2 separate regions of the Homo sapiens genome follow, and region 1 is linked to region 2. Evidence: promoter capture Hi-C in 16 types of primary human blood cells and fetal thymus (Javierre and others, 2016). All regions are on one chromosome and are shown on one strand. Each heading gives the region's core, a stretch centred on a gene start or on the middle of the fragment in contact. The rest is flanking DNA. Distances are from core to core; before and after follow the strand shown. Region 1 overlaps LOC112268030 (a long non-coding RNA gene). Region 2 holds the start of RAD21-AS1 (RAD21 antisense RNA 1).

Region 1 (5,113 bases), core at 1,141-3,640, 84 kb after region 2:
TTGAGGCAGAGTCTTCCTCTGTCCCCCAGGCTGGAGTGCAGTGGTGCCATCTCAGCTCACTGCAACCTCCAACTCGCGGGTTCAAGCAATTCTCCCTGCCTCAGCCTCCTGAGTAGCTGGGATTACAGGCGCCCACCACCATGCCCAGCTAATTTTTGTAGTTTTAGTAGAGATGGGGTTTCACCATGTTGGCCAGGCTGGTCTCAAACTCCTGACCTCAGGTATTCCGCCCGCCTTGGCCTCCCAAAGAGCTGAGATTACAAGCATGAGCCACCGCGCCTGGTCAATACGTGTATCTAATCTTTTTAATGGCTATATAGAATTCTATAAAAGACAGATGTGCCCCATTTCATTTAACCACTCCTCTATTGAGGGTATTTAAGCCATTGACTTTCATTTTCCAATTCACATTTCTGTGTTTTAATTTTTCCTATAAATATGTAATACTTTTTATGCCAAAAAAAAAAAAAAAAAAAAGAAAGAGAGAGAAAAGCTTCAAAACAAGCAAAAATACCATCTCTCAAGAGCTGGCAGCGTGGTCTCCCTCACGCATTGGAGGTGCCACTATCTTTGGCCCTCAGGATTTCAGCCATGTCCTCTGTACCTCTTCCTCTGCAGGCAAGTCATTCAGAATTATCGCTTAACACCCCTCAAATTAGACTCTCCAGTTGTAAAGGCCTAGAGCTACATGTGAATTTTGAGAGCACTCAGTCCCTTGTACTCCAACTTGTCATTAGTAAACAAGTTAATAATAATCGCGCCAGTGGATTGTTACGTGAGAAGAAGGCTGAAGTCCAGGGTGGTCCCTAGGAGGGGACTACATATAATCAGTCATTTCCCAAGAAAACTAGAAACCACAGAAAAAAAGTAAGAATCTCCTTTGTTTTTTCTCTCTTCACAGATTTTTAACTTCAGGGTATGCAAGAATCATAGTCACCTGGTGTTTGTTAAAGATACATTTTAGGAAAGAAGTCATTATACAAAAAAATACTTGCACACGCATGTTTATAGCAGCACAATCGCAATTGCAAAAATATAGAACAAGCCCAAAATGCCCATCAACCAACAAGTGGATAAAGAAACTGTAGTGTGTATGTGATGGAATATTACTCAGCCATAAAAAGGAATGAATTAATGGCATTCCCAGAAACCTGGATGGGATTGGAGACTATTATTCTAAGTGAAGTAACTCAGGAATGGAAAACCAAACCTCATATGTTCTCATTCATAAGTGGGAGCTAAGCTATGAGGATGCAAAGGCATAAGAATGATACGACGGACTTTGGGGACTCTGGGGGAAAGGGTGGGAAGGGGGTGAGGGATAAAAGGCTTCAAATTGGGTTGTGTGTACACTGCTTAGGTGATGGGTACACCAAAATCTCACAAATCACCACTAAAGAACATACTCATGTAACGAAATACCACCTGTTCCCCAAAAACCTATGAAAAATAAAGATACATTATAGGTCTCATCTACAAAGGTTTCTATTTTATTGGTTTAAGTGGGGCCCAGGAATCTGCATGTTAAGCAAGCAATGGTCCAAGTAACGCTGAGGCAGGGGTCCATGCACCACTCTGGAGAAACACTGGCCCCCCTGGAACTGCAGAGCTGGCCACAGCAGAGCAGTTCTGCCTACTGTAGTGATGCCCGCACATCACTGGTGGGAAGGAGGAAAAGTAGGTTCAGTTTGGTGGCTCCCACCTGTAATCCCAGCACTTTGGGAGGCCAAGGCAAGAGGATCACTTAAGCCCTGGAGTTGGAGACCAGCCCAAGTGACACAGCGAGATACCATCTCTGAAAAAAAAAAAAAAAAAAGCCAAGCATGGCAGTGTGTGCCTGTAGTCCCAGCTACTGGGGAGACTGAGATAGGAGGATCACTTTGAGACCAGGAGCTCAAGGTTGCAGTGAGCCATGACTGCACCATTGGACTCCAGTATGGGTGACATAGCAAGAGCCTGTCAAAAAAAAAAAAAAAAAAAAAACGAGGAAAAGTGGGGTCCAGCTCTTGCTTTGTTCCCATCCTTGTGACTTCACAAGGGAGTGCCTAAATATATTCAGAAACATAACACTGAAAGACAGTTAATCTTGAGCAAATACAGAATATGCAACCTAGGAAAGAATAAAGACCCTGAAAGCTGTGGCCTAATGCTAGGAAGATCTCAGGGCTGGTTTAATGAAACAGCTGAGACAAGAAATCAGGCTGCTGCACATTGATTGTACCTGTCAAAGCTTTAGTGTTGAGCAACATAAATTTATTTGGCCTATATTTGGTTATGTTACATTTTTTATTCATTCAGTTAGCCAACTCTGCCAACTATATAAGACGACTTCAAAAGGGCTTTTTCTACCAGAATGGACATAATTTAAATAGGACGGTCAGCTTTTAGACAGGCACAACACTATATATACAGATCTCAAGAAAAACTGGTGCTTCCTTATGTCGTTGGTTCATTTAAGAAATATTTATTGAATACCTCTTTGTCTCTGGTGCACATTTTTATAAAATTACCTTGAGCCCTAGATCAAATGTCACCTCCCTGTCAAGCTTTTCCCAAAGCTCTCAGGCAGAATGACTCTTTGAAAACTATATGTAAATAAATGTATTTATTTACCCATCTATAGTTTATCTTGCCTGGTGTCAAAAAAAAAAGAATTTAGACTGATGTTACATATTATACAATCCAGTGATTTTACGGCTGGAAGGAGTTTTATTATACCACTAATCTCTACATAATAAAAGTCACTATTTACCTACCTGCCTCCCCAAGTGGATCACAAACTTCATGAGGGAAGACTGTATCTTATTCATCACTGAATCCCAGCACATGTAGGTGTTCAGGAAATGAATACAGACACACATATATGAGCAAACACCAAGCAAATGTTATCTTTCAAAGTAGTACCTCGGGAAAGAGTGCATTTTTCAATAATGCTGACACTGCATAAAATTCCTTCCAAATTTGAAATTATCTTCAGAACAAGTTTCAAAAGCACACAAGAGAACAAGAAATATTATTTTGACTTGCTGTTTCATTTTTCCCCAAAACACTTTATTCTCCAGAATTGATTATAAATTTATTTAGGCTGTTTCCAAAAGTCAAATTCCTTCTCAAAGGATGGTGAATCGCCAGAGTGAAGGTACAAATCTCACTGTAGATGACATCTAAATATTTTAGTCTCATCCTGTCATAGCGATTCCATCCCTGTCCCTTACCCAGACCCCCCAAATTACTTAGATTTAAAGATTTCAGTTCAAGCCCCAGCTCTGTCACTTGTTATTGGTTTAAATGTGGGCAAACATTTGAGCTGTCTGAGCCTTAGTTTTCTCATCTGTGATACAGAGAAAATAAGAACCAATATATTTTGATCATTGTGCTATTTTTTAATTAATTAATTTTCAACTGAAAATTAAAATTTTTATTAGTAATATTATTTTTCATTGACATATCATAATTACATACAGTTATGGGATACAATGCGATGTTTCAATATATGTACATTTTGTGGAATGATAAATCATGCCAAATAACATATCCATCACCTCACTTACCTATCATTTTTATGGTGATACATTTGAAATTTACTCAGTTATTTTGAAATATAGAATACATTATTATTGACTATAATCAATAGTGCAATAGATCTCAAAACCTATTCCTCCTGTCTGTCGAAATTTTGTATTTTTTCTTTTTTTTTTTTTTTGTTCAAACTTTGTATTTTGTGATCAACATCTCCCAATTTCCTCCTTCTCCACCTCCCTAGCCTCTGGTAATCAGCATTCTAGTTTCTACTTTTGTGAGTTTGACTTTTTTAGATTCCACATATAAGTGAGGTCAGAGGTATTTGTCTTTCTGTACCTGGCTTATTTCGCTTAGCATAATGTCCTCCAGATTTATCCACGTTATCACAAATGACAGAATTTCTCCCTGTTTAGGTGGAATAGTATTCTATTGTTCATATATACCACATTTTCTTCATCCATCTCTGTTGATGAACACAGGTTGATTGTATATTTGGGATTCTGAAGAATGTTGTAATGAACGTGAGAGCACAGATATCCATTCAACATATTGATTTCAGTGATCCACACTCACTGGATTGATCCACGCTCCTACAAACATGCCCATGAAACGTTTTTGACCTTAACAGTTTCTTCTCAATTCTCTTTTAATGTAGCGTAAGAAAACCCTGGAGGAGAGTGCTGAGGATGAGATTTATAGAGGAGGCTAGCGCTCCCTCTAGGGGCCAAAACAAAGTATCCTCCACAATGTAGAACTGGCAGTGAAGGCAAATTTTTCTTTCTTTCTTTTTTTAAAAATAGAGACCGAGTCTTGCTCTGCCACCCAGGCTGGAGTGCAGTGGCACAATCATACTCCCTGCAACCTCAAACTCCTGGGAATAGCTAGGACTAAAGGCACACACCACCATGACTAGCTAATTTTTTAATTTTTTTGGTAGAGATGGTGTCTCACTGTGTTGCCCAGGCTGGTGTCGAACTCTTGGCCTCAAGCAATTCTCCCACTTCAGCCTCCCAAAATGTTGGGATTACAGGTGTGAGCCAATGCACCTGAAAATTTCATTTTTAAGAAAACATTTGTTGATGTTATAAGATATGGCAACATCACCAGAAGGACCTCAGAGTGACAGATGTAACAACACTCCTTTGATCACACTGTCATTCAGCAAACATTAAGCAACTATTACATACCAGGCACTGTGTAAAGTATAGGATACTTGGATGTTGAAGTTGATGTTGCTTTTTTAAAAATCAGTCTTAGGGTGTACAGTGTGTAGTTGCTGTCCTTCTCTACATATTGTACATTAAATTTTAACGGGATGTTAGAATTAAATTGAACCTCAAAAGGCATCTAGTTCTGCCGCCAAGATATTTCTGAAATTCTCCAATTACATAAATCTTTCTAATGATCAAGATCATGACAGAATTTGGGGGGTTTTGTTATTAAATTTTTAAATACATACATGTTTAAAGTTTTTTTGCAATCTACTTTCTAAGGTAGTCTTAAGAGGCCGGGCACGGTGGCTCACACCTGTAATCCCAGCACTTTGGGAGGCCGAGACAGGAGGATCACGAGGTCAGGAGATCGAGACCGT
Region 2 (5,147 bases), core at 2,398-4,897:
TCACCTGGCCATAGTTTGAAGCTGGGATTGATTTAAACTGAAATTTAATATGAACGACAACGTCTTCACCATGCAACATGGTTGTGTGATTCTTAACCTGACAGGAGACTTTTCCCACATGATTAGTTTTGAGGTCATTTAGCAGCTGATACACCGAAATTATTTTGAAGTGAAGAATTAAATTGTTCACTGGCAGAAATCTAATTTCTGTTGCAAGGAGTTTAATTGTTAATGAGCTTGTATTTTTTTTTTTTTTGAGATGATGCAACAACTGCCACTGTTGAGTTTGCTTAAAGCCACACCAGCAGGAAGGATTTAAGTGCTTTGAGCATCTAATCTATATTGGTCGAGGGAAAGCATGCTTAAAATGTTAAAAGTGCTTGTACTCCTTCACTCCCCAGCTTGGGATTTTAACAACTATCCTTAATGCCAATTTCTTAAAGTCTCCATTAAAAACAAACCAAAAGAACATAAAATATTTGGCTAACTACAACAGAAATTCACTTGATAAAGCTTTGAGCTGTGGCCAGTATGGCCACTTAGCTAATGGACTCCAGCCAGTGAGACGAACCTTGCCCCAACCCAAAAACAGTGGACCCACAGTGAGTGGAGCACAAGACTGTCCACTTTCTTATCCATCTCCTATATCAGCATAAGAAGGGTAAAAGTGAGGTGTTCTGTGTGTCATTAAAATCCTGGAAGTGTCCAGAAGTAGTGGTTGCTGACAATGAGGAGTATATGGACTTAAATGTCTGCTTTTCCTGTGTGTTTTACTTTAAAATGAAAATACATTCAGAAACTGGACACAAAATTTCTTTTTAAAATACGTTTTTATTATTATGGATTCATAATAGTTGTACACAATTATAAGGTACGTCTGACATTTCAATACAAGCATACAATGTGTAACAAACCATGGTAATTGGGGTATCCATCACCTCAAGTATTTATCATTTCTTTGTGTTAGAAACATTCCAATTCCACTCTTTTAGTTATTTTGAAATATATAGTAAGTTATTAACTATAGTTTCCCTATTGTGCTACCAAACACTAGACTTTATTCCTTCTTTCTAATTGTATTTTTGTACCAAATCTGAGGGGGCAGATTTTGTACTCATCTGCCCCCTCCCCACTACCTTTCCCAGGCTCTGGTAACCATCATTCTACCTTCTATCTCAATGAGTTCTTTTTTTTTTTTTTAAGCTCCCACATATTAGTGTGAACATTCACACTAATGTCTTTCTGTGCCTGGTTTATTTCACTTAATGTCTTCCAGTTCTATCCATGTTGCAGCAAATGAAAGGACTTTTTTTCTTTTTTATGGCTGAAAAATATTATCTTGTGTATGTGTACCACATTTTCTTTACCCATCTATCCACTGATGGACACTTACGTTGATACCATATCTTGACAATTGTGAATCTTGCTGCAATAAATGTGAGAGGGCAGATACCACTCTGATGTACTGATTTCCTTTTTTTTTGGGGGGGGGTATTTACTCAGGAGTGGGATTGCTGGCTCATATGGTGGCTCTATATTTAGGTTTTTAAGGAATCTCTATACTGTTCTTCACAGTGCTGTACTAACATACATTCCTACCAACAGTGTACGAGTGTTTCTCTTTCTCCACATCTTTATCAGCATTCATTATTGCCTGTATTTTGGATAAAAGCCATTTCAACTGGGATGAGATTATACCTCATCCTAGTTTTGATATGCATTTCTCTGATGATTAGTGATGTTAAGCATTTTTTCATATCCCTGTTGGCCATTTGTATGTCTTTTTTGAGAAATAACCATTCAGGTCTTTTGCTCAATTTTAATTGGATTATTTTCCTATTATATTGTTTGAGCTCCTTATATATTATGGCTATTAATTCTGTGATAGATGAGTAGTTTGCAAGTATTTTCCCCCACTTGATGGGTTGTCTCTTCACTTTGTTGTTTGCTTTGCAGAAGGTTCTTAGCTTGGCATGATCCCATTTGTCCATTTTTGCTTTGCTTGCCTATGCTTTTAAGGTCTTACTAAGAAATATTTGGTTCTGGAGCATTTCCCTAACGTTTTCTTCTAGTAGTTTCAATAGTTTCAAATCTTAGATTCCAGTCTTCAAGCCATTTTGTTTTGATTTTTTTAATATGGCAAAAGATAGTGATCTGTTTCATTCTTCTACATATAGTTATCTAGTTTTTCCAGAACAATTTTTGGAAGAGACCATCCTTTTCCCAACGTATGTTCTTGGCAGCTTTGTCAGAAATTAGTTGACTGTATATGTATTGATTTATTTATAGGTCCTCTATTCTGTTCCGTTAGTCTATGTGTCTGTTTTTATGCCAGCACCATGCTGTTTTGTTTACTATCACTTTGTAGTATAATTTGAAGTCAGGTAATGTGATGCCTCCAGCTTTATTCTTTTGCTCAGGATTGCTTTGGCTATTCTTGGTCTTATTGTGGTTCCATATAAATTTTAGGATTTTTTTCCTCTTTCTGTGAAGAATGTCATTGATATTTTGATAGGGATTACATTGAATCTGTAGATTGCTCTGGGTAGTATGGAAATTTTAACAATATTGATTCTTCCAATCCATGAACATGGAATATATTTCCATTTTTGTGTGTCCTCTTCAATTTCTTTCATCACTGGAAAGATCTCTACAATAAAAACAAAAGTAAATTTCTTCGTGGTACAAGTAAGTCTTTTAAGATAAGAAATTTTAAGATTCCTCCCAAGCAATACTGAAAATTTCCAAAAGGCAGTTATTATCTCTGTTATATTAATCATTATATCCAGAGCCCAACGTGTAGCAAACAGAAGACCCTCTATAATATAGGTTGACTGAATAAATGAACCTCTATATTTTATGGAATTAGTTTGAGGTTTTTATGTTACTTTCATCCCTATAGAGCCATAAAATGAATTTTTTGGTGGGGGCACACAAAATTGCACCACGACAGCTTTTTTCTTTAAAACAAGCACAAGAATAAAGCTAAACGCAAATATTCACCGCACTGGAAAGCACTGCGCGTGCGCTATCTTACGCTATTGGCTAACACCGCAACTCTCAAAGACCCTCGCAAGAGAATCACCTTTGCGCTTGCTCAGTTGTGGACTCCACAAACAGAGGGCGGGTTCCAAAGAAAAGGAAATAGTCATTGCGCCTGCGCCGCTCCTTCTGGGGGGAGGGGGGGGCTTGGGCTGGCTGCGCAGGCGCACAGGTACCATTTTGACCGTAAACATCCTGCCGATTTGAACCGAGGATTTGGGCGGCAGGAAGAGCCGCGGCGTAACGGCAGCCATCTTGTTTGTTTGAGTGAATCGGAAAGGAGGCGCCGGCTGTGGCGGCGGCGGGAGCTGCTCGGAAGCTACACCTCGCAAGGGCTCCCCCCTTTCCCCACCCCCTCCCCCGACCCTTTTCCCCTCCCCGGGCCACCCAGCCCGCCCAACTCCCAGCGGAGAGCAAGGTAAGAGACTCGGCCGACCCCTTCTTTTCCTCCAGCTCCCTCCCCCCACCCTTTCCCCGCCGCTCTGCCGTCGGGGAGCCGGACTCCTGGGGGCGGGAGGGCGAGGGAGAAGGCAGCCCTCGCCGCGCCCACGCGTGCTGCCACCCTCCCGGCGCCCAAGCGGCGGCGCCACCCGCCCAGCCCCCTTCGCCCCGGGCCCGCCCTCGGCCCGGACCCATGCAGCTTGGGCCCGCATCATCGCTTGTTCGGTAACAAATGATTCTGATCCATTCTGAGATCTACAAAGGCTGTTACCCTGCAGGTCCATCTCACGTCCCCCAGGAGGCCGGGGAAACCCTGGGCTGCGGAGGGAGGGGAGGAGGTTTGAACGAGCCCGCTCTGGGGACCGGGCCGCCTACTCCGCGGGTAAAAATGGCTGTCTGGGAGGAGGCGGTGGCGGGCCCGGCGCCCGCGGTGCCAGCCCCGGGAGCAGCAACCTTCCGCCGAACTCGGGTGCGGGGCTCAAGAAAGTGCGGAGCTGGTGGGGCTGGGCGGGGTGGGGCGGGGGGTCGGCGGGTGCCCCTCGGCCAGTGACTGCTGCTGCCCTCCCGTTTTAAAAAGATAATTTTTACGTTGGGAATGCTGAATATTTCACAGACGCGTGGAAAAAGAGACGGAGGGAAGTTGCTTCTTTTTCCAAGGATATTTGCATAATTGGTTTTCCCCTGAACTTTTCTGATCATTCTTTAAAGTGATTAAGGATATCGGGTGTTGTAGAGACGCTCTGGGGGAGGTGTGTGTTTCTGATAAATGCTTGATGCCCTTTTCGTCGCTGAAAAAGGCTTTTTGCGAATGATCCGCTTTGATAGTGTGGGGTGACACTGTCGGGTTGTGCTGCCAGACTTAGCGGCCTTCTTCAAATTTGTAAGAGGGAAACCCTGGGGGATTTACTTGGTCACTCTGATTTGTTAGTGTCTTCAGCGTGAAAAAAAAAACAGCGTTTGTGCGAAGAGTTTCTGGGAAAGGCTTGTGTTTATCGGCTTCTTTTTGCAAGGGAAAGTTAATCTTTGTTGTCATTATACTGGTTAGAAGAGTAATTGGTTTTCAGGCAAAAATTTCTATTTTCTTAAATTGGGTGTAAATGCCAGCGGGCAGTGCGAGTCTATAGAATTTTGGAGACAGGCAGGAGAAGGTTTCTCAAATCGTGAAGTCATTAAATACCTTTGTTAATGTCGGAGGCAACTAATTATTTTTGGAAAGGCATTGATGAGGACATACGCCATATCTGATCTTCAAATAAGTTAACAGTTTGTATAGTTGAGGTGACAGCAGTGCATAACTAATAGACATAGTGCTTTTTTTTATACACAAGTCAGAATTACAAAAGAATTTCTGGTGAATTATTTTGTGAAACATACAAATTCTAAGAAACGCTTTTACAGTTTGGTACAGAATGGAAATTTTCTAATTCTTGAGAAATAAGGTTGTGTTTTTAGTTTAAATGTCAAACCAGAGTTGTTAGGCATGATTATACTGGCTGGTTAATGTTTTGCTGCAAGATTGTCTTCAGAGTTACTTTTCGCATCAGCAGTGGCACTATGTTAGGTGTGCCCTTGTATTTAATTTTCATAATCTTTTTTGATGAATATTATCCCAGTTTATAGTTGAGAAGTAACTTATTCACCGTTACAAAACAACTGAGCAAAGA

The links. The method cuts DNA at HindIII sites, captures the fragments that hold promoters and counts their contacts. A CHiCAGO score of 5 or more calls a contact.
Region 1: a contact is called between a fragment that was not itself captured here and the fragment with the promoter of RAD21-AS1 in region 2, in 3 of 17 cell types (naive CD4 T cells, total B cells and total CD8 T cells). The highest score is 6.4, in naive CD4 T cells.

What each region holds. Positions count from the first base shown.
Region 1 is chr8:116,787,677-116,792,789 of GRCh38, reverse strand. All of the region lies in intron 2 of LOC112268030 (a long non-coding RNA gene), which reads right to left. Among named protein-coding and RNA genes, the nearest start is that of UTP23, 24 kb to the right of the region's middle. The HindIII fragment of the contact is 316 bases long and covers 2,233-2,548 here.
Region 2 is chr8:116,872,924-116,878,070 of GRCh38, reverse strand. It overlaps RAD21-AS1 (RAD21 antisense RNA 1), which reads right to left and starts at 3,647. Exons shown (of 2, transcript NR_033886.1): 1 at 3,086-3,647; 2 at 1,203-2,650. It overlaps RAD21 (RAD21 cohesin complex component), which reads left to right and starts at 3,295. Exons shown (of 14, transcript NM_006265.3): 1 at 3,295-3,460. MIR3610 (microRNA 3610) reads left to right here and starts at 3,271; the gene lies at 3,271-3,343. RefSeq lists an enhancer at 3,298-3,347 and silencers at 3,458-3,777, 3,938-3,987. The HindIII fragment of the contact is 5,133 bases long and covers 516-5,147 here.